Regions from separate parts of the Homo sapiens genome. Here all the other regions are linked to region 2. Evidence: promoter capture Hi-C in 16 types of primary human blood cells and fetal thymus (Javierre and others, 2016). All regions are on one chromosome and are shown on one strand. The core of a region is centred on a gene start or on the middle of the fragment in contact, and the rest is flanking DNA. Distances in the headings are between cores, read along the strand shown. Region 1 overlaps CTIF (cap binding complex dependent translation initiation factor). Region 2 holds the start of SMAD7 (SMAD family member 7). Region 3 overlaps CTIF (cap binding complex dependent translation initiation factor). Region 4 overlaps DYM (dymeclin). Region 5 overlaps DYM (dymeclin). Region 6 overlaps CTIF (cap binding complex dependent translation initiation factor). Region 7 overlaps CTIF (cap binding complex dependent translation initiation factor).

Region 1 (3,901 bases), core at 772-3,271, 180 kb before region 2:
GCTGAGTTATCGGCTGTCCCCAGCTCCTGGCTTCATGGTTCATAGTAGATGCTCAGGAAATGGCTGTGGAAGGGAGGCATGGAGCCATCAGTCATGGGTACCAATGCTCTCTGGGGCATGAGGGGCTTTGAAACTCTTCTGAGCACTTTCCTGTGTGTGAATCGGAGGTAGGTTCCAGGGCAGGGATCCCTCCCCAGGCTTATACATGGGGAAAGTGGCTCAGTGAGGCTGCAAGATTGACCCAGCATCACGAGGCTAGCTGGAGCTTCTGGATGCCATGCCACATCCTAAATAGGGTGTAAGGCTCAAAAACTTGGGAAAATCAAGAATCCATATCATGGTTGGGAGCAATGGCTCATGCCTGTAATCCCAGCACTTTGCAAGGCCAAGGCAGGAGGATTGCTTGAGGCCAGGAGTTTGAGACCAGCCTGGGCAACATAAAAAGACCCCATCTTTGAAAAAAAAAATAGGCAGGTGTGGCAGCATTGCTACTGAAGCCCCAGCTACTCCAGAGGCTGAGGCAGGAGGATCCATTCAGGCCAGGAGTCAAGGCTGCAGAGAGCTAGGTCCCTGCTGTTGCGCTCCAGTGTGAGCGACAGAGTGAGACTCTAAAAAACAAAAAAGAATCCATCTCAGGAAGTCATCAATTGGGATTTCAAAATCCACCCTGTGGAATAATCCCACTGTGTTTCCAGGGGTCGCTGAGTCTCTGAGCTTTCTGGGCCTCTGGAGGTCAAGGGTACCTGAAGAAACCCCTGCACTCTCCATTCGCCCTAGTCCCTGTGAAACCACACAGGCTGCTGGCCCCAGTTCCCATCTCCTCCTTGCATCCTCTCCCTCTTCTCAGACCCCCTCCCTCATTTCTGCACACCCACCGCTGAGCCGATGTGCACTCCAGGCATGTAAACTAATTTTAATGTTGGCCCAAGCCAGGCACACCCAGGGATAGAAGCACATTGTTCTGTGCATTCCAAAGCTTGAGCAAAAGCCCTGGCCATACCCACATCGAGCTCCCCTCCACTAGTTGCTAGAAATCAGAAAGGCTGAAGCAAAGGGCCAGAGGCAGTGCAAGCCGCTTTCCCCGTGGGCAGGCTGCACGGAAGCTTGCAAAAGCCCAGAAAAGGGCTGTTTTTCTAAAAATGGCTGGCATCTGAGCTCCCGCCCTGCCCCCTGTGGGCCATCTGTCCCCATGCTGAAGCCCGTGCCCTGCAAGGGACATGCAGAGTTGGCACACACATTTCCCTGAAGGTGGGCACCAACAGGCCTCGTCAGGCTGGCCTGGCATCACAGGAGGCCAGCAGTCACAGGAGCTTGACCCCTGCCCAGGATTCTGTGGCAGCCCTGGGCTCCCCCAACAGGAAGAGCCAATGCCTGACTCCTATCCATGTTCTTTGCCCCTGCGGCCAGAGCCACAGTGGATAGGAGCCGTGTGCCTCGTTGCCAATCTTGTTGTCTGCACTTGCTTTGGGATGAGTAAATATGACCTGCTTTTCTCCAATCTTTATTTCTTCTCAACGCTTATTGAGCACCTGCTATATACCATGCACTGTGGCAGGTCCTGTATGTCTCTGTTCATTTGCCCTCCACTGTGGTCTTTCAATCTGTTTGTGCAAATCTTAAGCATTGCATTCAAGGACCCAGGTGGGATACCTCAATGTCAGTGCTTAGACCAGATCGCCCTGACTGTTCAGTTTGGGTGGGGCGGGGGAACATGTGGCTTCCAGGAGTGCTAAGCCTGTGGTTCTCTCTGGAGCTTTGAAGTGCTCAGTGAGACAGAGCAGCCGATGACCGGATCATAAACAAGCATTTTGATTTTTGAATCTGAAAATAAGCGAGGAAAGAAAATGACCACTGATCCTCAGCCAGTCCTGGAAAGTGCCCAGAACAGCAGCATGCCAGGTGTCCAGTCATCATATCATCAGGGGGGCCTGGGTGCTGCTGCTGTGCCAACTACTGCCCCAGGCCCCCAGGGACCAGTGAGCTTCCTGCAAAACCAAGTGCCCAGCTTCCTGCCTCTTTGCCACTGCGCCACTGTGCCACTGCGCCACTGCGCCACTACTGTGTTCTTCAAAATCACAGAGAGCCCCGCTCCTGAGAAAGCCCAAAGTGCCTTTCTGTGCACGGCATGGGCTTTTACAAGTCTCATGGGCAGTCTACTGCAGGCCTTGTCAGAGACTCTAGATGTGCAGAGGCTGAGGGAGCCTTGGACAAAAGTCACTCCTTTCCCGTGAAAAGTGGCCATTGCCCTGTGTTGTTAGGAGCGTGGGTGGCTCAGGAGGGGAGAGCAAGACCAGCCTGCAGCTTCATGAATCAGGTCAGCTGGGCCATCTGGAGCAGACAGGTGTGGGTCGTGCCCCCGAATCTCATTTCTCTAGACAGGATTTCTTGCCCTGAGGCAGCAACGCTGAGGCCTGAGGAGTAGCAAACCTGTGCAGTAGCATCGATTGCTGCCTCGATGCTGATCTTGAGCATTTAAAACATGTCTCTGCACCCACGTTTCCGTCCTGCAAGGGATGATTGGGTTGTGGTAGAGCTTAAATGAGGTAATGCATGCACGGACCCCAGCTCTGAGCCACACCACTCGGATGGCTCCATCAGTGTGGGTGCCCTGCCCTGGTGGGATGAACTGGGAGGCCCTTCTAACTTTATCCCATCCTAGATTCCCAAAGACCACCCCATGCCTCAGTCTTGGGCAGCATTTCCATTTCCCCCCCCTACGCTGATTAAATGTGGAACAATGAGGGCAGGCAATGAGTGCTTTTAGACTATTGTCTTCCTGGGCGGTGGGCCCAGGATTGACAGGTGTACTCTTCCTCCTAGTCAAATCTGCCTCCTCCAGGAAACCTTCCCTGATCTCCCAGCCCAGGGACCTCACCTTCCTCTGACTCTTGAACATTTACCATGTGTCCCTTTCATGAAGTCTTCTGGGCTCCCCTGTTTAAGCTTTTCTTATCTGAGACTTGTATCTGTGGATGTCTTGGGGCAAAGAATGCGTCTGGGTCATCTTTGTGTCCCACCACCATACTGGTACCCACAAGGTATTCATCAGGCATCAGCTGGCTGGCTCCAGGAGCTTCCTTCACTGGGGAGGAAGGAGCATGGATAGGCAGGCATGGGAATAGCACAGGCCACAGCCACAAAAGGGAATGGCCTGGGGTTTTCTCCCTCTCGCTTCTGGGCCAGGAGAGCTTTACCCAGGTCAGGAATTATTTCACCATCACCCGTGTCCCTTGCCAGACCGTGTCCCCTTCCCTGCATGCCCTCACCCCCCACCCAGGGTTCATTTTCCCTGCTAAATCCCCTGATAGAACTTGGCCGGGCACTGCCCTGTCTGAGGCTGCCACGCCGAAGCAGGCCCTGCAGATAAGTGGGTTACCGGAGAAGGCCAGCTCGGGTGTCCCAGGCCCCAGAGGGTCACCCCTGGCTGGCTGGCAGCTCACCCCCAGCACCTCCTCCTCCTCCTTCCCCGGAGCCAGGCAGGCAGGAGACAGCAGATCCTTCCCCCCAGCTCTGTGAGCGGCCGGCCCCCAGCCGCCGCGGGGAATCTGAGCTATGCTAAGCGGCTCCAGATCGCAGCATCTCTGCCCTGCCCGGGCACGGCCGGCCCAGACAGGGCGCCTCTACCTGCCGTGGCTGCCGCTGGAAAGCTGGCACCGCCTGGGCTGATGGAAAAAATCTCCCTGCGGGTTATGTAACTGCTCACCGCCCTGTCCCTGGCTCCCCAGGGAGGCTCCCAGCCACTACCAAGAGAGAGCAGTGGCCCCTGGGCAGGAAGGAGACCACAGAGGGTCACTCTTTCAAAAGGAAGAAAATAGTGTTGCGTTATCTGAGGTCCTCCTCTGGAACCAGCCTGTGCATGGCGCCAAGGTGTTTCCTGAAAATGCTTAAGGAGCTCAGAGGC
Region 2 (4,027 bases), core at 1,292-3,791:
AGGGGGGGGAGACTCTGAAATTAAAAAAGCAAGAGAAAATAAAGGCCCAGCCATGAGAAGAGAGATAGAAACTTATGATAACAGAGGCATTCTTTTAGCCCAACTGTTTGTCTTAGCTGTGGGGGTTGGAGGCAGGGCCGCGAGGCGGTGATTGCCTTGATATTTAGCTGTCAGATAAACAAAAGAGGCCGCCTGGCGCCAGCCTCGGCGCTCCGCTCCTCCACGTCTGCGGCCGCAGCCGCCGCGCTCGGCTGGCCCGGCTGGAAACCACCGGCTCGGCCGGAGCCGCGCACTTCACAGTTCACAGGGCGGGGGGCGACCATGCCCCCTCCCCGTCCTCGGACTCCAGACCCAGCTCCCAGCAACCTCGGCTCCCCGCCCCGGCCCGCCCCCCAGGCGTGCAATTCACCTCTGCCCCCGCCGGTCCGCTCGGCACTCGCGCGGGGGACACGGGGCTGCCCATTCCTAGCGCACTCGGGAGATGCATCCCAAGCGTGCTGGGGAACGTGGGGGATCTGCGGGCGCCCGGGGTGAACCCTCACATCACACTCTGTGTACAGAGACGTAGAGTAAAGGAAGGAATGGAGAAAGCTGAGAGGATAAAAGGAAAGGAGTTTCAGGGTCTCAGCCGAGAAGCCCAGGCCCCAGCGCAGTAAGAGGCGACAACGTCACTGAGGCGCCGGGGCCCCACTAATCTACAGACTTATCTGTGCGGAAGGAAGGAAAAAGTAGGGGACACCCAACTTCTCCTGCCTGTTTGTTCCTCTGCACCCTGGGGCTGGCAGAGTTGAAAGGAGACAGATACCCAGTTCGGCCTTCCATCCAACTCTCTTTGCCCCAAAACTCCAAAGGTGCGCGGCCACGACAGTATCTGGGCCACTGGTGTTCGACGTGATTCTCCGTATTTACTAAAGGAGTAAATACGGAGACCTTCCAGCCTTTATAGCACGCCTCTCCCAGCCTTCCTTGGCGGGCCTGGACCAAATCCAACTCGGCCACACACCTCAACGTCTTTCCGGGTGCGGGGAGGCGTGACCCCCCCACCTCCCTCTGCACCCCCTTGTTGATCCGGAAATGAAGGCGTCTAATTTTTAACCGCAGACTGCAGGAGCAGTGCCCGTAGACCCCTTCGGGGCAACACAGGAGAAAACCTGGAAGGGAACCCCCAGGGAATGCCCTTTGAGTTTCCCCTTGTCCCTTCTCTACTTTCAGCCCCCAGTCTCTTCCCAGGAGGGTATGCACACTCTCCCAGGAGGGTATGCACACTCTCCCAGGAGGGTATGCACACTCCCCCTGGAGGGATGGCTGCACAAACGCACTGCCCTAGGGGCTTTTCTTCCAGCACTGGCGCTCCGGAAAATGTTGGGGGTAGGGGGACAACTTCTCACCTAGTTCGCAGAGTCGGCTAAGGTGATGGGGGTTGCAGCACACCAGCTCGGGGTTGATCTTCCCGTAAGATTCACAGCAACACAGCCTCTTGACTTCCGAGGAATGCCTGAGATCCGGCCACCTGAACACTTTGCACAGCAGGAGGGGGAGCGAGTAGGACGAGGGCGGCTGCGCAGGCTGCGCGCCGGCGGGCGCCCCCGGGCCCAGCCTGCAGTCCAGGCGGCCGGGCAGCAGGAGGCACGCGGTGCGCGTCCCGCCGCGGGACTCCACGGCCTGGAGCAGCAGCTCCAGCTGCCGCTCCTTCAGTTTCTTGAGCACCGAGTGCGTGAGCGCCTTCAGATCCGCCTCGGCGCCCCCGGCCGCGCCGGCGCCCGCGGCTGGCGGGTGGGGATGGTGGTGACCTTTGGCACCTCGCACCGCCTTGCCCAGGCAGCATCCAGCCCTGCCCGGGCCGCCGCCACCGGCCCCATGCGCTCGGCTGTCCGTCGCCCCTTCTCCCCGCAGCTCGCCTCCTCCTCCACCTCCCCCTGCGCCCTCCTCCTCGTCCTCGCCGCCGGGCGCACGGCTCCTCCAGAGACGCCGGACGAGCGCAGATCGTTTGGTCCTGAACATGCGGGGCGAGGAGGCGAGGAGAAAAGTCGTTTGCCTGCTAAGGAGCGAACATGACCTCCGCACACCATGAAGAAGTCGGGCGCCGAGTTGGGGCAGCAGGCGCAGGCGACAGCAGCAGCAGCAGGGGCCCGGGCAGGAGCGGCGGCGGCCCGAGGGGCGCTCCGTGGCATGCGCCAGTCTCCCGGAGGCCGGGGCGCGCGCGGGGGCCCGGGGGCGCCCGCCGGGGATCGGGGGCCTGCGCTCCGGCTGCCCCACCCCGCGCGGCCCGCGCCCTGCGCGGCTCTCCGGCCCCGGCGCGCCCCGGAGGAACCCGGCCGCCGCTTCCCTGGGGACGGCCGAGCCTGCCCCCGTCGGCGCCTCCCCAAAAAGAGGCCCCCCCGCAGTGGCTCCCGAATGTCGGGCTCGCCAGCCTCGGCTTCCTACATGGAAGGTCCGCGGGGGCAAAAAACGAAAGGCGTTCGGCTGGGCTGTTGGAAGAAGGAAAAAGCCTCTTTCCCCCTTGCTAAGCAACTTAATTTGGGGGTGGGGAGAAGCAGGCAATTAAAAAAAAAAAAGCAAGCGATTTATTTTTTTCCTCTATATCCTTAGTAACCGGATCTCCTCGAATTCCGCGCACACGAAGACTCAGGGGAGGGGGCCGAGTGGACTTCACCCCGCATGAGACGTCTGGCAAAATAAGAAGGCTCTCGCAAAACCTAACAACCAAATATGCAAAGCCCCAAATGAAAACCACCACCTCCTCGAACCTCAGAGGTCTGGGGGCGTCCGGCTGGAACTGGGGTTTAAAAAAAGAAAATGTTTACAAAGTATAACAAGATGTTTGATGGGTGGAAAAATGTATCCACGAGTTACATCCCCCCGTTTCCTTGCAAAGCCCCGCTGGTCTTCCTCTCCTTTTCTTCTGCCAAAAAAAAAAAAAAAAATCGTGTATTTTTTTAATCCACAGAAAGCTTTGGCTAGACCGCTTCAATCCTGCGCATCTGGGTGGTTTAGGGGAGTCTCTGGTCTTTCCCCCTGCGCTCCTGGGGGCCCAGGTCCTCGGCGGGGACTTCCTCGAGGCTGGCGCGGGCGCAGGGGCAGAAGATGCTGCGGCGGCGGCTGAGCCCGGCGGGGCTGACAGCGCGGGGGAGGGTGGCGCGGCGGCGGCGGAGGGCCCCAGACGGGTCGCGCGTTCTCGCCCCCCCCGGGCACAAGCTGCTTGCTAGTGCAGGGGCCGCCGATGTCCCTTCCCCTGGCCGCGGCTGGCCGCCGAGGCTCCCCGCATGGGCTGCTCGCCTCGACCCAGCTGCGGCGGCAGGAGGCCCCGGTGTCCTCTCGGCGCCTCCTCCTCCGAGACTCTCCTCGTCGCGCCCGGGAGCCTCCTTGTCCCCGGTCCGCCCTCTCCTGGCGCTCCGGTCCTTCTGCCGCCGCCAGGGGCTCGCCGCGCCGCACTCAGGGGCTCAGGGGCCGGGCGCTCGGCGGCTCGGCGCCGACGGACTGGCTCTGTCTCGGGCAGCTCTCTCCCGCGCGGCGAGCGGACCGAGCACGGCGCCCGGCTGGCTCGGCTGGCGCGGCTCGGGGACAGGATCTTCCGTGCGCCGAGCAGCAAGCGAGTGTGCCCGGGGCTCACCGCCTCCCGCAAGGCCTCCCGCCCCCGCCCCCTTCCCTCCCCCTTCCTCCCCCTTCCCTCCCCCGCCCCCAGCCGCCGCAGCCGCGCCGCCTCCTCCCCGCCCCCCCGCACCCCCCCTCCGGCCCTCTGCTCGGCTGGTTCCACTGCGCAGTGGCGCGCCCGGCTCCGGCCTCGTCACGTGGCCGTCTAGACACCCTGTCGCTTTAAAAAAAAAAAAAAAGCGATTGTGTTTCGCAAACAACAGATCGGGTTTCTAAAAGCTATTTCTCCCCCCAACCCCCCGCCACCGCCACCCCCTCCCGGGTCTGTAGAGGGGGTACCGATGGAGGGGAGAGAGATAGGTGGGGGGCAGAGAAGCTCCCAGAATGGATTGAGCCCCGGCCGGAGCCATGGAGAAATTGGAAAAGCAGGGAGCAC
Region 3 (4,131 bases), core at 1,525-4,024, 160 kb before region 2:
GGGTGGTTTGCAGTGCAGATTCATGGCTCCCAGCTAGAAACAGTATTCCCTCTGCCCCTGCGCCAACTCCTGCCCAATTCTTCTGCTCCTCACCCAGTTCCCCAGCACCCTGAGGGGACTGGCCACACAGAAAGGCATGAGAAAGTCTGCTGGCTGTGTCCACAGTGCCAAGGGTTGGAGGTCTGGCAGTCCTCTGCGTTTGGTGTCTGTCCTGATTGTCTCTCCTGGGGGTGACATGGGCAGGATCTCAGCGGGAGGTGAGGCTGGGGCCAGGCACTTCTTCTCCCTGTAAAACACTGCTCAGGGAGAGCAGCTTTGCTGACCTTGAGCTGGGACCCCCCCTTTCAGAGTCTCCCAGTGATAATCCCCATGGGGACAATTGGATGGCCGACCCTCTCTAGCCTTTAGGCTGGGGGGAGAAGAAACCTGAATTTGGGGTTTTTGTCTCTTTCCCAGAAGAGGGGTAGGAAAGAATCAGTAACAGCAATAGCCTGAGCTGGAAACATGCTCAGGGGCCAGTGCGTCCCAGCTTTGAGTATAGAGCTTCATTCTGAGCACTTCCCACATAAAACACAATTGGGGTGCCCCAAGGAGGGGCAGACACCAACATTTCAGGCCAGAATTCCAGACACTTGACTCCTAGGAGAGCTTTGGGTAAGCTGTCTCTTCCTCCCTAGCCTTGGTTTCCTCACCTGTAAATAAGTGGCCTGAAGCCACTGAGGGCCTTTTAGTGCCAGCAGTGAATCCTGTGACTGTGTTCCTCCTATCTCCCTGTATCCCAGGGCCACACCACCTGAAGCATTTTTCCCCTGCCTGGCCACATACCTGCCCCCGGAGGCCTTGTTACTAAGAAGGGCTCATGGAGCTGGAGGAGGTCAGGGGAGCAGTGGGAACAGCCAGAGGCACAGTGGCAGCCTTTGAAGATAAGATTCCTAAGTCTGGGAAATACAGAGGTGTGGCTGTAATAGGAACAGGACACAGACCCTCTCACCATCACAGGGAAACTCAAGGGTCTCCCTTGGGGAGGTCACTACAGAAAAAATGAGAAGAAGCACTTGTACTTCTGTACAGGGTGGGTGTGAACTCATCACCGGCCCAGAGGTGTAGGTAGGCCAACAGTGGACACGGATGCTAGAAAGGTACTATGACATCAGAGTGAGCATGACTGAGTCTGGTTAACGATGGCCAAAACTGTCCCATTCCCACCATCCAATAGCACACCTCTTAGGCCTGGGAGACCCTGGGCAGACTCAGGAGGACGTGTGCTGTGCTGAGCCTGAAGAAGGTGGCAAAGAGCAGGTGTGTGCACGTAGGTCCCTCAGCACCCATGGGACATGTTCCTGGACTGCAAGCCTCATCTTCCTTTAGTACAGTCACTCTAGGCCTCTGAACCATTGCTTCCTTGGCAGGAAGTACCAAATCACAGAGAAGCCTCAAATCATTTTCTTCGGGTTTAGGGAAAGTCACTGATTTTCATTTTCCTATAACATGATGACAATAAGGGCTGGGTTCACATCCCAGCTTTGTCACAGACTAGTTGTGTAACCTTGAATGGGTTTCTTACTCTCTCCAAGCCTCAGTTTCCTCACTGGTAAGATGAGGATGGTAATAATGATTGGGTTGGATTGCTGGGGATTAAATGAGATAATGTAGTAAAGGGCATAATACAACCCTGGCCCTCAATAAGTGCTCATAATGTTGGCTATGGTTCAATTGGACTTTGCTTGGGATAATAGTGAAAGGAATTTTAATTTCAGTTTGATTCATCAGGTGTGCACTAATATTATAGGTCTAGCCCTGTCTGAAACTCTAGGGAGATACAGTCAAGTGTAGATCAGTGACATACCATATTCATGGACTAGAATACTCAGTATTGGTATGATGTCACTTCTTCCTAAATTGGTCTCTAGAGTCAACAGTCTCAAATCAAGATGCCATTAAGCCTTTTGGGCAGAAATTGGCAAGCTGATTCTAAAATATATATGGAAACTCAAACCTACAATATCCAAAGGAATCTTGAAAAAAGAACAAAATTAGAAGTATAAATTAAGGGCTTTGTTTTTTTGCTCTCAGGAACCTTAAGACTAGTGGGGAAGACTAATAAGAGACCCCATGCTGCTTCCTAGGAATGTAGGGTACTGGTGAAGAGTATAGATGCTAGAGCCTGGCCCCTGGCTTTGAATGCTGGCTTTGCCACCTGCTACCTCATGACCTTGGGCAGGGTACTTTTCCCCTCTCTATGTCCTAGGTGTCTCATCTATAAAATGGGATGATCACAGCTTCATTGCCATGGGGCCATTGTGAAGATGAAAGGAGCTAACCCATGTTAGCCTAAGGCTGCCTACTAGGTGTTGGGGAAGGGATGGAAGTAGAATGAGGACAGAGGTTCCGCCCCCAGTACCGTATGTCCTTTGGAGAAGGAAAGCCTAGAAGCTGAACCACCTTTCCAAAAAGGGAAATTCTGGAATAAGGATCTCAGGCTCTGTGAGTACAGCCACCTCCTTTTCTAAGACCCAGACTGGGGAAATAGCTCATCCAGGGTCACTTGGCTGAAGGTTAAATACAGAGGAAGTGTCCAACAGGCAGGGAGTGTGAGCAAAGGTCCATGGCAAGGAGTTACAGCGGTGCTTCTTGGGCCATGGGAGAAGGCTGTTTCTGGAGTGCCGAGTTCGAGGGGGCATGGGGCTAAGGGACAGCCAGCAGGCATGAGTCACCAAGGGGCAGGCTGCCAAATCCAACAGGACGCCCCATGGAGCCCTTTGGCCTGGGCCCAGCTCAGCAGCCCCCTCCCCATCCCCCGGACACACGTACCCCACCAGGCCTGGAGACATTTCCTGAAAGACTAAGAAAGCACTGGGAGCTGGACGGGCGGCCTCAACGGCCAGAGGCTTGAGGCCAGGTCTCTCATGGAGGAGCAGACGAAGGGAGGACGTGACCGGCAGCCTTCATTCTCACAGGCCAGGGATTTCAGAGGAACGCGGCCAAGTCTAGCTCTGAAGTTCCCACTTCAGACCCCGCCCGGCTGGAGCCACGGGCGCCTGCAGTCGCCACCCTGGAAATCAGAGAGGCACGTCATAGGCCACCTCGTGCTGGGGAACACGTCCTCCTGGGGCCTCTGTCAGCTGGCTCACCTGCTGGGGTTCCCGGATAGCCCTTCTCCTTCTGCTGGGCCATGGACCCTCCTCTAGCCAGCTTCCCCCAATCCCTGCTCTCCCTCAGCCCCCAAACCTGTCCACCTTCTCACTCCATCTTCTCAGGAGAGTCCTGGCACCCAGAACAGACCTCCTAGGAATGTCATGTCTCTGTCTTTGAGGTCATGAGCAGACCTGGGGCAGGAAGGGGAGGCCCTGTACAAGCCCTACACTGTGGCTCAGGCCCAGAGAGGGGTTGACACCAGGCCAAAGGAGGGACACATGTCCACAGATAGCTCCCAGGCCTCCTGCATGCTGGCTGGTCAGACCATGAGAGCCACACTGGACAGGTGAGGAAACTGAGGCCCAAGAGGAAATGTGATTTGCCCAAGGCCCTATAGCAAGATAGAGGCAGAGCAGAATGGAAGACCTAAGGCTCCCAAGCCCTGAGCCCCAAGCTCTTTTAAGTCATTTTCATGGTTTCACTTCATTTTCTTTTTTCATTTCCTTCCTTCTTTAAGAGAAAGGCAGGCTCTGGATAGACAGGCAGGGACACAGGCAGGGCTACCAGAAACTCAGAGGAAAGAAGAGAGTGGCCCAGGGTTGGGCAGCCTCTACCCCCAGCCCCCAAGCTGAGTGGAAGCCCCTCCCTCCCACCCAGCCTCAGCCTGGCCCTGGGGGCTCCCCTTAGTGGGAGCTACCAGTTTGTGGACACAGGAATGTGCCTGTGGCTTGCCCAGAGACCCTGAGGGCCAGCACCTCAATCACAGCATCTCCTTGCCCCAAGCAGCCTGCCCCGTCTCAACCGTAGCTTTTATCACCTTCCTCCATGCCTCTCTAGTGAGTGTCTTCCCTGAGTCAGCAGAACCTGTTCATAGTCATCCCTTCTCCCAGATTAATCTCTCTCTCTCTGTAGCCTTCCCTGATCACCCAGGCTGCTGGAGTCTATCTGTGCCCTCACTGGGCACTCAGCTTTTGCCACCTGGTGTTCTTAGTGTCA
Region 4 (4,128 bases), core at 250-2,749, 250 kb after region 2:
GCTGTCACAGAAGCCAAAAGAGGGTGGGGCTGTACTACCTAGTTCATCTGTTGAGGTCAAGTAAAGAAGGCGGTGAAGTTTCTCAAAATGTGCCTTCTACTCTCCCCTAGAATGCATGTAAACAATTCACTCCCATGGTTCTTGAAAAAAAGAAAAACCCCAAACCAGAAACATACTAAGTTAGAAGAACAATTTTTAAAAATTTATCTATTATAGCCAAATCATGAGTGAACTCCCATTCACAATTGCTTCAAAGAGAGTAAAATACCTAGGAATCCAACTTACAAGGGACGTGAAGGACCTCTTCAAGGAGAACTACAAACCACTGCTCAATGAAATAAAAGAGGATACAAACAAATGGGAGAATATTCCATGCTCATGGGTAGGAAGAATCAATATCATGAAACTGGCCATACTGCCCAAGGTAATTTAAAGATTCAATGCCATCCCCATCAAGCTACCAATGACCTTCTTCACAGAATTGGAAAAAACTACTTTAAAGTTCATATGGAACCAAAAAAGAGCCCGCATCGCCAAGTCAATCCTAAGCCAAGAGAACAAAGCTGGAGGCATCACGCTACTTGACTTCAAACTGTACTACAAGGCTACAGTAACCAAAACAGCATGGTACTGGTACCAAAACAGAGATATAGACCAATGGAACAGAACAGAGCCCTCAGAAATAGTGCCACACATCTACAACCATCTGATCTTTGACAAACCTGACAAAAACAAGAAATGGGGAAAGGATTCCCTATTTAATAAATGGTGCTGGGAAAACTGGCTAGCCATATGGAGAAAACTGAAACTGGATCCCTTCCTTACACCTTATACAAAAATTAATTCAAGATGGATTAAAGACTTAGATGTTAGACCTAAAACCATAAAAACCCTAGAAGAAAACCTAGGCAATACCATTCAGGACATAGGCATGGGCAAGGACTTCATGTCTAAAACACCAAAAACAATGGCAACAAAAGCCAAAATTGACAAATGGGATCTAATTCAACTAAAGAGCTTCTGCACAGCAAAAGAAACTACCATCAGAGTGAACAGGCAACCTACAGAATGGGAGAAAATTTTTGCCATCTACCCATCTGACAAGGGGCTAATATCCAAAATCTACAAAGAACTCAAACAAATTTACAAGAAAAAAACAACCCCATCAAAAAGTGGGTGAAGAACATGAACAGACACTTCTCAAAAGAAGACATTTATGCAGCCAAAAGACACATGAAAAAATGCTCATCATCACTGGCCATCAGAGAAATGCAAATCAAAACCACAATGAGATACCATCTCACACCAGTTAGAATGGCAATCATTAAAAAGTCAGGAAACAACAGGTGCTGGAGAGGATGTGGAGAAATAGGAACACTTTTACACTGTTGGTGGGACTGTAAACTAGTTTAACCATTGTGGAAGTCGGTGTGGCGATTCCTCAGGGATCTAGAACTAGAAATACCATTTGACCCAGCCATCCCATTACTGGGTATATACCCAAAGGATTATAAATGATGCTGCTATAAAGACACATGCACACGTATGTTTATTGCAGCACTATTCACAATAGCAAAGACTTGGAACCAAGCCAAATGTCCAACAATGATAGACTGGATTAAGAAAATGTGGCACATATACACCATGGAATACTATGTGGCCATAAAAAAGGATGAGTTAATGTCCTTTGTAGGGACATGGATGAAGCTGGAAACCATCACTCTCAGCAAACTATCACAAGGACAAAAAACCAAACACCACATGTTCTCACTCATAGGTGGGAAATGAACAATGAGAACACTTGGACACAGGAAGGGGAACATCACACACCAGGGCCTGTTGTGGGGTGGGGGGAGAAAGGAGGGATAGCATTAGGAGATATACCTAATGTAAATGACAAGTTAATGGGTGCAGCACACCAACATGGCACATGTATACATATGTAACAAACCTGCACGTTGTGCCCATGTACCCTAAAACTTAAAGTATAATTAAATAAAAAAATTTATCTATTACATTTTCTTACCAACTTTTCTGATCTGAATTTACTTGTCCTATTTTGACTTATACTGCACTGACTAACGCTGTAAATCTTTAAGACTGAATACCACATTATGGAAAATAGAATAGGCTTGATGACAGGATCAAGTAATGAATATGTAATTCAAAAGGAAACCATAATGGTTTAAGTGGGATAATACATTTCATTTCATGCCACAGAAGTGGCACAGAAATCAATAAAGCACAGCCACAACAGAATTATTACGACAGTATCATATGCATGAAAAATTATTACTATAGCTTCAAGTATTTATTCATTACAGATTAAGTGAATAGCATATTATATGACAAGACCATTCCAGCAATTTTTAAAACTTGTTTTGAGGAAACTCATTAGAGCTTTGTCTTAGATTTAGACTGAAGATGCAATCCTTTGAAAGTAATAAAATGGCACCAGATGTGATTTTTTTTAAAGCACAGTATAAAAGACATGACAAATGGGTAAAAGTATTCCTAAATTTGAAAGTGCTACAGTTGAGATATAAAAATGATTTCATATTACACGTACTTAGAATTATAAATCCATTCAGTTAAAAAGAAAAGAAAAAAAAAGAAGAAAAAAAGCAAATCTATGAAAGTTCTAAAATAAACCATGGGAGAAATTCTCTGTGATCATACTGAGGAACTCCTATCTAATCCTGTAAACCACCGCAGTTCTTTGCCAATTAATAAAGTGGCATTGCATTATGTTAGTAGAGGGAAAAAAGGAAAGAAAATCCAAAGACATACATGTAACTTAGGGGTGGTTGGGAGGAGGGTAGAGAAAAGTGAGAGAAAAAATTTATTTAAATTTGCATAATTTTTTTAATTTGTAAAAGATAAATTTTAAATAATTTTAAAAAGAAATGTCATGTACATTTTACTATTGTTCCACAGCTATTTTTATACATTATCTGGTTTTTGGACACATACATAATTTTTATGTAGTTGTTTTAATAGCAGTATATAATTTTATATTTTTTTCATTAAACATTATATCAAATATAACTACTAAAAATAGAAAATAGCAGTATAGAAGCTTATATTCTTTTTTCATAAACATTATGTCAAATGTTTTCCATATTTCTACTTATTTTTCTTTATAATATTTTAATGGCTGTATGATATTCCATTGAGTTGATAGGATATAGTTTATTTGACCATTCTTCTATTTTGTTCCTAAATATAACCCTTTCTTTAGGTTAAGTTCTTCCCTTAAGATAAATTCCAATATATTAACATTTTAATGACTTTTGGTAAATACTTCTAGCATATTTCTTTATAGAATCCACTATCTTCATTACTAAATTTTTTAATTGACAAAAATTATATATATTTATGATGTAAATGATGTTTTGATATATGTATACATTGTGGAAATGATTAAATCAGGCAAATTAACATATTAATTGCTTCACATACTTCTTTGTGGTAAGAACACTTAAAGATCTACTCTCCTAGCAATTTTCATGTATACAATACATTGTTATTAACAATAATCACCATGTTGTGAAACAGATCTCTTGAATCGCCATTCTTTGTATTGCATTGTATGGCTGGAAAATAATCCAGAATCACGTATTATGCTATATCTTTAGTATAACAAATTTTTAAATGGTTGGACAGTTCAAAAAATCTTCACTCTTAAAAAATCATTCTTTTACCAACTGATTACACAAAGCTTTTAATATGAGTATCGGTAATAAGAATACCCCTAGCACACTCCTCTTACAGTATAAAATATAAACCACACAAATGATACATACTAAATATTTGCCATGTTGATAGGAACTAACTACATGCACAGAAGTAATAACACAGTTCCTACTAATATTTCATACTACACCATTTCAATGTTGAATTATGTTCTCTCAATATCATACTTCAATTCCTTTTTTTTTCAAAGTTCACCTCCATTAAGTCCTTCTTTTTCCATCTCTACTGCCACAATCAGGTAGTCTATGTGTTGGTCTATTACCTAAATTCAGATTCTTTCACCTCAGGTTCATTTAAATGCATGACAGTCATCAGACGCAGCATGCTTCGACCACATCAGTCAGGCTCAAAAGCACCAAGTAAAACTCAATG
Region 5 (4,231 bases), core at 168-2,667, 230 kb after region 2:
GGGCTCTGCATTGCCAGCTATTCCAACTTGTTATATGTTAGCAACAAATTCTAACTTCAAAAAACCAAAACCAAACAAACAAAAAAAACTGTGCAAACCAAACACAGCACCTCTCTAGCCTGAGTCCAGGCTGCAGGCCGTTAGTATGCAGTTTCTGATTTGGAGAATCACTGGAAATACCACGTCATGAAATGCAGCAAACCATCTAGAGTCAAGGTCGTGTTGGAGTTAGATGGGTATTTTAAACAAAAGAGATGTGCTCTGGTAAGAAAAAGTCAAGGATAAAAGTTAAGATGATTTATGAGAGAAACCCAAAGCAAAATGAATGTTTCCGTGGAACAGCATGATTTTGAGATCACTCAGAACTATATTTATATGCCAATGAAAAAATCTTTAATTTTTACATAAATGCATTTTAATTTAATCCTTGATCCCCCAGTAAAGAGAACATGTTATTCTGTTTTACGAGACACAAACCAGCTGGTTTATAATAGAATTGTCCAGAGTCCCCACAATACAGGTTGAATTTCCTTCATCTGAAATGCTTGGAACCAGAAGTGTTTTTAATTTTGAATTCCTGCAAATTTTGGAATATTGGCATGATACTTACCAGGTGAACATACCAAATCCAAAAATTTGAAATCCAAAATGCTCCAGTGAATGTTTCCTTTGAGTATTATGTCGGTGCTCAAAACGTTCTGAATTTTGGAGCATTTTGGATTTTTAGATTAGGGATACCTAATCTGTGTAACCATCATATGTTCAAGATACAGCCCAAAATTACTCCACATACAATCTTGGCCAAAGGTTTATCATTTTTGTTGATCTTCTCAAGGAATGAGCTTTTGGTTTTAATTTTATCTACTGCATTTGTTTTCTATATCAGTGATTCCTGCTTTTTATTATTTTTATTTTATTTTGGGCTTAATTTGTTGTTCTTTTTCTAGTTTCTTAAGGTGAAAGCTGAAGTCACTGATTTGAGATCTTTCTTTCTTTCCAATATAGGCATTTCAGGCTATACCTTCCCCTTAAAATACTGCTTTAGTGGCAGCCATCCCACAACATTTGATATGTTCCATTTTCATTTTCACTTAGTTTAAAAATCGCTTTTGGTTTCTTCTTTGATTCATGGATTATTTAGAAGTATGTTATTTAATTTCCAAATATATGGGGATTTTCCAGAAAGTTATCCATTATTGATATCTATTATAATTCCATTGTTGTCAGAAAACAAACTTTCCATGACTTGAATCTTATAACCTGAATCTTACTGAGACTTGTTTGATGGCATAGAATATGGTCTTTGTTGGCAAATGTTCCTATGCAAATGTTTTGGCTGGAGCTGTTATTGGTTGGAGTGTTCTATAAATGTCAACGAGGTGAAGTTGTTTGATAGCATTAAGTCTTCCACACTCTTACTCATTTTCTGTCTACTTTTTCTATTAGTTAATAACAAAGATATATTGAAAGCTCCAACTATAACTGTAATTTGTTTCTCCTTGCAATTTTATTAGTTTTTGCTTCAAATGTGTATGTTATAAAGTACACATTTAGGATTATAATAGTCCTCTTGATACACTGATTCCTTCATTGTTATGAAATAATTTTCTTTATTCTGGTGATGTTTCCTCTCTGAAGTCACTTTGCCTGATAAGTCCCTCCTGCTTTCTTTTGCTGGTGTTAGTGATATGGTTGCATTTATATCTATCCTTTTGCTATAGTTTTCCATTTGTCCTATTGATTCTTTTTTTCCCCTTTTTCCATTTTTCTGCCTTCTTTTGGGTTGAGTATTTTTATGATTCTATTTGTTGGCTTATTAGCTATAATTCTGAACAGTGGTCTGGGAACTCTCAATACTCACAGGGCTCCCCTCAATTGCTAACATCTCTCAGGGATTTGTTTCTTTTGTTGCCTGATGCCCAGTGTCTCCAAAGTCCCTGTTCTATATACTGTGTCTGTTTTGGTTGTTGTTTCAGGCAGAAGGGTAAATCCAGTCTCTGTTACTCTATCTTGGTTGGAAGTGAATAGTGATTTTTGAACATCTGTGTGAAGAAAACCCCACAGTTTTAGATATTTTACGTAGAAACTTAAGGAACACTGGAGAAAACCAAAGATTTTTAATGTAATGTTTTTCCTTACTTGAAGTGGTGATTGCACATTTTTTTTCCATCTCTGATAACCACAGTATTTTAAATTTCACTGTGATTTTTTAAATACAACACTACGTATTTGAGGGGAAATTTTATTCACCTAATCCCACTAATTAAGTGATTTGTATCACTGTATTTTATTTGCACAACTAGTCTCTTATTGTAGATTGTAAATGCCAGTCATTGATAGTCTTTTAAAACTTATCCTTCATTGTGAAAATCAACATATTAGGTACTTGCTACTTTTCCAGAAAACGTTGTGGCACCATCAGGAAGGACAAACACCACAAGGCAGTCCTGCACTTCTAAATTTGTGCCCATCACTCTTTACTTCACTCCACATCAGTCCGCTCATCATTCCTGCACACTCCATTCTGTTCCTCCGTTAACTGCTTGGCCTACACTCACTTCCCTCCCCTATACAAACCTGCCTGGCAATTTTCGATTCACCCTTCAAAATGTAGCTTAGAAAAATATTTACCACATTTTCAAGTTAATTATATACATTTTATTTCACTAAATATTAAGTTCTTGAGCCTGGGATAGTTCACTTCTGCCTCTTTGATGCCTAGCGTAGTGCCTGTACATTTAACAGGGTCTCAAAAAATGTTTATTTAATTGAACTGAACTCAGAAATAATTTGGGATGCACAGTGTTAGGGACTGAATGTATGTGTCTCCCCCAAATTTCCTATGTTGAAGCCCTAACCTCTAGTATCGCTGTATTTGGAATAAGGAAATAATTAAGGTTAATGAGGTCATAAGGGTGAGGCTCTGACCCAAAAGGATTAGTGTCTCCATACAAAGAGACACCACAGATCTCTCTCTCTGTGCACGTACTAAGAAGAGGCCTTGTGAACACGCAGTGAGAAGGCAGCCATCTGCAGCCCAAGGGGAGGGCCCTCACCAGACCCCACTAGACCCCACCCTACTGGCACTTTGATCTTGGACTTCCAGTTTCTACAACAGTGAGAAAATAAACTTCTGTTGTTTAAGCCACTCAGTCTATGGTATTTTGTTATGAGCCTGAGCTGACTAATATACATAGGGATGTGTTTAAGATGAGGCAGTTCCTCTCTTCCCACTAAAAAGCAAGTTAGGGCTCTTGGGTCTCCAGTAGTAAAAACTCTTCTGTTGGGAAAAACAAAAAAACAAAAAACAAAATTTTTTTTTTTTTGGCGGGGGAAGGGAAGTGGCCTTTTCTCCAGAGGGCTATGCTTGAAAGAGTATTGTCACTTCATCCTTAGCCAAGGCCACAACTCACTCCCAACTAAGATTAGACATTCCATAAGTTCTCTTACAAGCAAACTAATTATAAAAGAAAGCTCAATTCCCTAAGGACTGGGTTACTGAGGTAGTAGAGAAGTGCAAACCCTTATTCCATCACAGAGTCAGAGTTCAGAGATACTGCAGCAATACAGTATTCCCCCCTTATCCACGGGGGATACATTCTAAGACCCCCAGTGGATTCCCAAAACCATGGATAGTAGCAAACCCAATATATACTATGGTTTTTTGATCTGATAACTGAGATGGCTGCTAAGTAATGGCTGTTAAGTGACTAATGGGCAGGTCGCATATACAACAGGGATACACTACACAAAGGGATGATTCGCATTCCAGGTGGGACACGGCAAAATTTAATTACACTATGCAGCACAGTGCACAATTAAAAACTTACGAATTTTCTATTTCTGAAACTTTCCATTTAATATTTTTAGACTACATTTGATTGTGGGTAACTGAAACCCCAGAAAACAAAACGAGGATAATGGGGGACCACCGCATATATCTCAGAGGTAAGAAGAACTATTACAGGGCTTCTAAAATAACCATCATTTATGACATTATAAAATAAAGCTACAGAAGGAATGAGGAGTGCTAGAAGGAGGCTTTAGTTTTTGGAAGGGGTGGTCAGGGAAGGCTTCACTGAGGAGGTGTCATTTAAGCAAAGACCTGAAGATGCTGTGTGTGTGTGAGTTGTGCACAATCTTGAGAAAGAGTATTTCAATAAAAAGGAACAATAAATACAAGAAGGACATGTTCAAGTTGAATTACAAGTAATCTCATGAATTTCTATAA
Region 6 (4,074 bases), core at 256-2,755, 200 kb before region 2:
TGTGGCCTCAGGACCACCCTCAGAGTGTGTGAACTGCCCGAGTCCAGGGCCTGCGTTTGGTTTATGCTCCAATATGGCTGTCTTGACTTTCTCAATAGCTTTTGAACCAGGGGCCCACATTTTCATCTTGCACTGGGTTCCGCTCATTATGTGGCCAGTCCTGCCTCCAGGCCAGAGTAGAACATAGGCCTGTGCTGCTCTCTGCTTCCTTTCCTTCGTGATTCTTGTCCTGGGATAAAGCTAGAGACCTGTTTCTGTAACTAATAGATTCACATCTGTCTCTCCAAATGGACCCTCAGCTTCATGAAGGCAGCAGCCCTGTGCGCTGGAGTCATCGCTACCTCCCCTCCCCAGACCACAAGGAAGATAGAGAGAAGGTTCTGCCTCATCTGAAGGAAGTGGATGCTTTGGGAGCAGTTCAGAGGCACACACAAGACACTCTGGTGGCAGAGACGTGGGTGTGATGTAGGGCATTCCAGACTGTAATCATATCAGGAGTCTGGAGGGCTCGGGCAGGACCCTGGGAGCTGGGGAAGGCTCCTGCTCAGGTCTGGACCTTAAGACCTGGATAGGATTAGGGGAGTGCTGAAGGACTCTGTAGGGACAGCTGAACAGCTTTGTCACACAAACACCCTGCCTCCACCCCAACTTCTCTCAGAGGGCTGCAGGAGCTATGTGGCCTCAGGCAAACCCACTGACATCTCTGATTAACCTCTGGGCAGAACAGAGTCTCAGCATGTGTTTAATTAATGAAACAATAATGAACCAGCCTTTCTCTGCATCATTTATTATTCATTCATTCATTCATTCATTCATTCATTCATTCATTCTACAGTTAGTGAGAAAAGTCTTTGCCTGTAGGGTGCAGAGGTACCAATCAGACCTTTCATCTATTCCAGAGCATCGTTTGGCGAGGTAAACATCTGATTTCTAAAGCTTTTAGTCCATGCAGTGAGCTACCACACTTCTTACATGAACTTTTGCCTAGGCTGGCAAAGACCTCAATCTTGAATTGTTTTCTACCCAACTCTGAGCAAAGAGAGCCACAAAATCTATTGGAGTGGGGGAGTCTGCAGCTTGGCTGGCCGCCCACGGTGGCAGGAGTGTTTCTGATGCATGCTGGCCCTCTCCTCTCAGCGTTGTTAGGAGGGAGTGCTCAGGAAGTAGCTGGCCCAGTGCTGCTGTTGCCGCCATCATGATAATGATGGCTCTGGCAATTACAGGGCCCGTGTGTTGCCTAAGCTTTGTAGCGATGCCCCCAGTTCTCCAAAGAGCACTGAGATCTCCAATAAGTAATTGTTAAATCCAGTCATATGGCGTGTTACAGCAAAAACACAAATCTGAGTTCCAGTGAGGGCTTTGCCACTAACTAGCGGGGCGACCCTAGAAGGACAAAGCAACCTCTCTGGACCTTGGTTTTCTCATCCGTCATGCTGTGACTCATGTAATCCTTACAACTGCCCCTCAGGTGGGGACTGGCACATCTGGAAACAGAGACACAGAGAGGTGAGATCACCCAGCCCATGCAACTGTGAGTGGCACAGTGCCAGGCTCTGTGCAGGCTGCCATACCCCAGACAGACCTGGCAAGGAGTGTCCTGCGGGGGACACCCATCATCCGAATCAGCCCTGCGCGCACCATGGGTGCTCCGTTAGTATAGGTCACTGTGATCCTTGTCTCTGAGTGTTCATCAGCCAATACCATGATGTCCCTTGGTTGACTCCCTCATGAGGGAAGAAAACCTCCCCTCCCTTATACTTTTCCTTTTTAAGCTTCCCCATCATTCTGCAAACTGGGGTGGGTGTGTGTGGCGACTTTTGTTCCTGGGTCCTATATGCCATCGCTCGACTAAGCAGCCCCTGAGCTGCAGAGAAATTGTTGGTGCCTGTGCCTCCGAGCCTCACCGCAACCCTTGCGTTGTCCCAGGTGACTGGGCCAGGGCAGGCAGAGCTCACTCAGGGCATGTGTAGGTGGGCAGGAGTGGAGGTGCCTACGCTGGTAATAAGCAGTCATCACTTTTCCTGAAGGCAAGAAATATGAGCCCATGCATAGTTTTAAAACCACTTGCCCTAGGAATTTTGCTTTCAGAAATTTTTAAGCAGACCTACAAATTATGTGGTAAAATGTCCGACATGGAGAGAACCATAATAAGTCAGTGGCACTCAGAATATCTAGTTGGGAACGATTATGAAATAAAAAACGAACAGAGGGACATTTGTCTCCATTTGGACTGCTGTTAAAACCATTTTTTTAAACAAAATTTGAAGTTATTCTCCCTACACCCACCTCCCAAAATGCAGCTGTGGTGTTCCGAGAACATTTTTGTCTTTTTGTATAAAAGAGAGCAGTCTTAGAGTAAAACAAGACATCTGATTTCAGAACCCAAAGAATAAAGAATAAACTAAATGAACGATGGAAAAAGCATAAACCGACAATTTCCATTCTCCAAAAAAAAAAAGCATTATTTTCCTAACAGCAGGTGTTGCCAGTAGCACAAATGGAATATTAATCTTATCTCCTGTGCTGTTCTTCCTCACCCGAAGAAGACTTCCCCAGAAATAAAGAGGCAGAGAGTTGGGTTTTTGCCCTTCTTACTTGCAGGGCTGCAAAACTGGGTGTCCAGTATGTTTCCCAACCCAGGACCCACATGTCCATGTGTCTGAGACCAAGTGCAGCCTCCTTGCCGGGTTGCTGGGAGCAAAAGCGGCTCATCCCTGGCCCAGCCAAACCCCAAACCCGCAGGTTTCGTGGGGAGCAGCCAGCTGGCCCCTGAATGAAGGTATCGACGAAACCCAGCGCCAGCAAATACAGAAGAGAGAGGAGCTGGTTTTGGCTGGCCCAGCCAACGACCGCTGACAAATATTTGTGAATGGCCAGAGCAGGGAAGCCTAGGTCTCCATTGCTGGGGAACGAGGCCTAACTCCAAGTCTGTTCCAGTGCCCTTAGCAGCCCTCTTGGCTCCTTCTCAGGCAAAGAATTTGGACCTCATGCAGTTATCACCACCGAGGTCTCAGTGGCCATTCAGCCCTTTGTCTCCATTACTACAGGTCACTGCGGTCCTTGTCCCTGAGTGTTCATCAGCCAAGGAGGCTGTGTCTAAAGGCGAATGGGAGACAGATGGGAGGTGGCTGCAAGGTGCTGTGATTAGTTGACAGGCTTAGCTCACTCCTGGAGCCCCTGGCAGGCCCTCTGCTGTAGGAGTGCACCTCACGGAGCCTCGGTTGTCTTATCTGTCGAATGGAAAGAAAGGTTCTTGGCCTGCCTGCACACAGAGGCCAGTCCCAGCAATCACTCACCCTGAGAACTAAGCAAGGCCTTGTGCAGGAAGAAGGAAAAGGGAGGACAGAGGGACAGTCTTAGTGCCTCTTCCTCCAGTGGCATCTGGGTTCTTCCCTGCCCTCCCAGGGCTCACCCAGCTGATTCCATCTGCCATTTAGCTCCATATCAAGACCTCCTTATTTTGAACCTGTTAGTCTTTCCTACCCAATTAGGAGGGAACACTTGAGGTGGACTCCCTGGCTTCCCTCCCACCTACGGATGGCTTTCCACATGTGCAAAGGAGCCGCCGCCCAGCAAGGGTGAGCCTGAGAACGCCCACTAATGCCAAGTGGCCTGGGGCATTCTTGGCCATTGCTATATTGTCAGGGCTGGCTGGCTCCAAGCTCTTTCGAACCAGAAAGACATGGAATTCCAGGTCCCTCCAGATTTCCAGGAATGAACAGCAGAAGCCCTGCAGGAGCCAGCTGATTTCTTTCTGGAGCCCCTGACCACTAGCCATATAGCAATTACTTCCTTCCCCCTCCAGGTAGATAGAAGTTGTTTTCTTTTCTGGGGGTGGAGGAGTGCACTGGGTAGAGAGAGGGAAATCCCTGTATGGCAAGTGGGAAACCAGGCAGTTTCAAGACGGATGTTGGGAAGGGCTTGGTCAACCATCCTTTGGGGACATTTCTTGGGCCATAGCTGCAGGCGCCACAAAAATTCTAAATAAGGATGACGAAAGTTGTGAGAATCAATTATTATCTGCCAGGGAATTTCCAAGGTTCCTCTCTGGGCTTAAAAATAACTCACATTGAA
Region 7 (3,721 bases), core at 728-3,227, 230 kb before region 2:
TTATGGAGGCCAAGAAGTCCCACAGTCTGCCATCTGCTGCAAGCTAGAGAACCAGGAAAGCCAGTGGTGTAATCAACCCAAGTCCGAAGGCCAAGAAACAGGAGCATGTATGAGGTTCCCAGCGTGACCGTAAGCATACCATGTGTTACAGCATGGGATGTCCAAGGGCAGGAGAAGATGGATGTCGCCACTCAAGAAGAGGGAGTGAAGTCACCCCTCCTCTGCCTTTTGTTCTGTTTGGGCCCTTGGCGGATTGGATGGTGCCCATCCACACTGGGAGAGAGATCTTTACTCAGTCTACTGACTGAAAATGTCCTCATAGACACACCTAGAAATAATGTCTTACCAGCTAACTGGGCACCCCCTAGCCCAGTCAGGTTGACATGAAATTAACCCTTATATCTGTTCTCCAGGATTCCTCAGACATGGTCAGGGGCCATTTATGACCTCATGTAAAGATTTCTTTTACTCCAATCAATATCAATATCGCCCCATTCCCGAGGCATGAAGGTGAGCACTCAGAGCACCCATTGCTCTCCGTGGAGTCTTCCAGGCCCTCAGCGTCTGACAGATGCGGCAACTGCAGCTGCCTTTTCTGGGCTGGTACCTGTTCTCTTGCAGAAGGCAAACTTGGAGTGGGAGAGGTCTGCTTTCTTTTTGCCACCTCTTAATTCTACGCTGTCTGCCCCATCAGTAGCCTCATGTGTCCCTCTGACTTCTCACTCTCAATACGAAAATATGCTTCTAGAATTGTCTTTAATATTTTTAAGCCCCATTCCTTGACACTGCTGTGGCTTCTGTATCCCAGGCTTTGATGGTCATCTGTGACTACAGGAGGCCCCACATTCCTTTTCACATGTGGGCTCATGGGCAAGGACTCTGGGGGATACCAAGTGCCTCTCGACATCCCTCTCTTTAAGTCACAGCTGCTATCTGGAACTTGCTGCTCCTTTTAGCACCTCAGAACACTCTACCAGTCATAGAGTCCCACATCCTACAAAAATGACCAGGTCCCCCAGATCTTGCCCACCGGGAACTGATGAGGAATTAACCTAGTCGGAGTCCTATATCTATACATCAGCTCATTCACATGAGTTGTTAAGATAGCTCTTTTGGAAGTGCAGTCCATCCTTATTACTCATTGATTCATATTTGCACATTCGCCTACTTGTAAAACTTATTTGTAACACCGCACTCAATACTCATGGTGTTTTTGCAGTCAGTCATTGACACACAAACAGTGAAAAATTTGAGTTGCCTGACCTGCAAGATCCCAGTCCAGGCCAAAGTAACACTCTGCCTCCTTGTTTCAGCTCTCATAGTATAAGCAAGCACCCTTCTCATGGTTCTGTTTACTGCCATGTTTTTCACATTTTTGTGCTTTTCCTTGGTGAATTTGCTATTTTAAATGGCTCCTAAACATAGTACTGAAGTGCCGTCTACTGTTCTTAAGCGCAAGGAGGCTGTGATGTGCCTTCCGGAGAAAATGTGTGTGTTAGATAAGCATCACTCAGGCATGAGTTATAGTGCTGTTGGCCGTGAGTTCAATGTTAATAAATCAACAATATGTATTAAATAAGGTTTCTTTAAACAGAAACACATACAAAACGAGGTTATGTATTGATCCAGTGGTGAAAATGTTGTGACCAGAGGCTTGCAGGAACCAAACCCCGCATTTCCCCTAGGAGTAATAGTTCAGTATTCACTAATTCAGTATTTGCAGCAACTTTATGGAATGCAACTACCATAAATAATGAGAAGTGACCGTACTTGCTCTTTAAAACAGAGTAGAGAGATGCTGAAGATAAAGAAGTATGTTGTAGGCAACAGGATCTTAGGTCTGAGTGATTTATCTTGTTCGTGTGTGGTGGTAGCTTCGCTAGGGGATGAGATGGGGACGGGGGGGATGCTTCTTCCAGTGGTCATTGTCCTGCATGGTTTGACTGAGCCTATCACTGCTTCATTTGCACCATGCTGGGATGCCACTGTTGCTGAGGCCCTCGCAGACAGCTCAGCCCTGCAGTGACTGTCATTGCCATCCTGTCATCCGAGCCCAGGGACCGCGAGACAGATCTATGCTCACTTTGCCCACGGTTTGTCTTTCCATCCCAGCAAGGAAATTGCCCTCATTAAGTCCCTGCTAAAGATAGATAAGAAAATGGGACAGGCAAACCCCCACCTGGCAGGCAGCCCTGTCAGATTCTAAGCAAAATGAGTCAGATAAGAATTATTTTTAGGATCCTTCTCCTCCTCCCTCACGCCCACCCCCAAGCAGGCTCTCTCTTGAAAAGAAGAGCAGCTCATTTCTTCAAGCCAGATGTCCAGGTCCATGCTTGATTGAAATGGAGCCCCTGATACACCCAGAGAAAGCCCCACGCTTTGTACAAATCATGATGGTCCCAATAATCCTTTGCACAGTGCAGCTGCCTCAGGCCGCACTCCTGGGCAGAACAAGCTGCAGAGAGTGGCCCTGTTGAGGCTGGCCCACAACTCACCCATGAGGGATATACCTTCCCCCGATCCCCATGCTCAGGACTTCCTCCCAGCATCACACTTCATGGGAATACAAGGCTCTGGGGGTTCTCTCCCATCGGGACCCACATCCACGCGGGGGACAAATGGGTAAGAAAAGAGGTTGCCTACAGCTCATTTTGGCAGAGCCCTGGAACCCCCTGTGCCCACCAGGCAGTGGGCATCCCCTAGTTCTGTGCCCACAGTTGGAGAGCAGAGTACTACTCTTTCTCGATCACAATAATCCCCTTTTCCCCAGCAATTAGAATTCCTTCAGACCCCTTAAGCCCTAAATAGCAAAGGGAGACCCAATGACAAGAAAGGTGACTGAAGAGGACGTAGGGGCACATGTCTAGTTACCTGCAGGACAGGAGGGCTGCTCCCTGAGAAACTGGCCCTGGAGAGATAAATGCCATTTCCCCAAGGTCTGCGTCTAGGATGGGACGTAGAATGGACGCCTTGGGAACCAGCCACCCAAGCTGGTTTCATTCCTCCTCAGAGGTCTAGTCTCTACTGAAATGCTAGGCATTTGAGGATTGGCTCACAAACACTAACACCCAACCCTTCATTCCTCTCCGGAGCCCCAAGCAACCTGGCCTCTGGCACCAAGCCAGCCCAGCCCTCCCCGGGGACAGTGTGTCTGGTGGGCAGCCCAGGCCCAGGGCGAGGCTCACTGGCTTCAAGACGAGCTCATCTCTCACCAGCCAGGGGATCTTGGGCCCTGGACAAACCATTCTTCTTATGTCCCCAAGGACACCATTGTGCAGACTACAGGGATGCCATTAGATGCCATGTGATGGCAGATACGAGGGAAGTCCTGACCCTGTGTGCGGCTCTGAGTCTAACCTCAGAGAACGTGCATCCCCCCCTCTCTGTCCTGACACTCACTCCTGTGCAGGAAGAAAAGAACACTGGACCAGAAGTCATGGAATCTGGATTTTCATACTTGTGGTGTGGTTCAGAGCAATTCTCTTACACTTTAAGGGTACACAGTTTCTCAGCTATAAAATAGGGCTCTGATTTCAGCTCTACAATGTATTAGAGAGAGTGCGAGGTGAAGATGAAAAGGGACACTTCTCAGGGATATTCCATTCCTTAACCATGGGATGGGAAAGACAGTTCTGAAAGACATGTTGGAGGCTGGCCAGGGCTTTCAGTGCAAATAACCAGTGTCTCGTGTATCTTCAGCTCAGCCCATGTGCCCTGTCCA

What was found. The method cuts DNA at HindIII sites, captures the fragments that hold promoters and counts their contacts. A CHiCAGO score of 5 or more calls a contact.
Region 1: a contact is called between a fragment that was not itself captured here and the fragment with the promoter of SMAD7 in region 2, in 13 of 17 cell types (M1 macrophages, M0 macrophages, M2 macrophages and 10 more). The highest score is 8.6, in M1 macrophages.
Region 3: a contact is called between a fragment that was not itself captured here and the fragment with the promoter of SMAD7 in region 2, in 11 of 17 cell types (naive CD8 T cells, total CD8 T cells, M1 macrophages and 8 more). The highest score is 10.1, in naive CD8 T cells.
Region 4: a fragment that was not itself captured here is called in contact with the fragment with the promoter of SMAD7 in region 2 in 1 of 17 cell types (M1 macrophages); the score reaches 5.0 in M1 macrophages.
Region 5: a fragment that was not itself captured here is called in contact with the fragment with the promoter of SMAD7 in region 2 in 3 of 17 cell types (M1 macrophages, M2 macrophages and endothelial precursors); the score reaches 6.4 in M1 macrophages.
Region 6: a contact is called between a fragment that was not itself captured here and the fragment with the promoter of SMAD7 in region 2, in 1 of 17 cell types (M1 macrophages). The highest score is 5.1, in M1 macrophages.
Region 7: a contact is called between a fragment that was not itself captured here and the fragment with the promoter of SMAD7 in region 2, in 2 of 17 cell types (M2 macrophages and M1 macrophages). The highest score is 8.6, in M2 macrophages.

The regions. Positions count from the first base shown.
Region 1 is chr18:48,768,289-48,772,189 of GRCh38, forward strand. The region is part of intron 9 of CTIF (cap binding complex dependent translation initiation factor); the gene reads left to right. LOC107985147 (a long non-coding RNA gene) reads left to right here. Exons shown (of 2, transcript XR_001753444.2): 1 at 1-3,901. Among named protein-coding and RNA genes, the nearest start is that of CTIF-AS1, 72 kb to the right of the region's middle. The HindIII fragment of the contact is 1,840 bases long and covers 1,102-2,941 here.
Region 2 is chr18:48,948,424-48,952,450 of GRCh38, forward strand. SMAD7 (SMAD family member 7) reads right to left here and starts at 2,542. Exons shown (of 4, transcript NM_005904.4): 1 at 1,389-2,542; 2 at 1-14. The coding sequence starts at 2,001. RefSeq lists an enhancer at 1-373 and silencers at 240-439, 1,480-1,799, 3,016-3,715. The HindIII fragment of the contact is 3,263 bases long and covers 1-2,949 here.
Region 3 is chr18:48,787,741-48,791,871 of GRCh38, forward strand. The region is part of intron 9 of CTIF (cap binding complex dependent translation initiation factor); the gene reads left to right. Among named protein-coding and RNA genes, the nearest start is that of CTIF-AS1, 52 kb to the right of the region's middle. The HindIII fragment of the contact is 9,280 bases long and covers 1-4,131 here.
Region 4 is chr18:49,197,386-49,201,513 of GRCh38, forward strand. The region is part of intron 14 of DYM (dymeclin); the gene reads right to left. Among named protein-coding and RNA genes, the nearest start is that of MIR4744, 150 kb to the left of the region's middle. The HindIII fragment of the contact is 3,156 bases long and covers 1-3,077 here.
Region 5 is chr18:49,180,927-49,185,157 of GRCh38, forward strand. The region is part of intron 14 of DYM (dymeclin); the gene reads right to left. Among named protein-coding and RNA genes, the nearest start is that of MIR4744, 130 kb to the left of the region's middle. The HindIII fragment of the contact is 6,459 bases long and covers 1-4,231 here.
Region 6 is chr18:48,751,155-48,755,228 of GRCh38, forward strand. All of the region lies in intron 7 of CTIF (cap binding complex dependent translation initiation factor), which reads left to right. Among named protein-coding and RNA genes, the nearest start is that of MIR4743, 83 kb to the left of the region's middle. The HindIII fragment of the contact is 530 bases long and covers 1,241-1,770 here.
Region 7 is chr18:48,718,378-48,722,098 of GRCh38, forward strand. All of the region lies in intron 7 of CTIF (cap binding complex dependent translation initiation factor), which reads left to right. Among named protein-coding and RNA genes, the nearest start is that of MIR4743, 50 kb to the left of the region's middle. The HindIII fragment of the contact is 9,652 bases long and covers 1-3,721 here.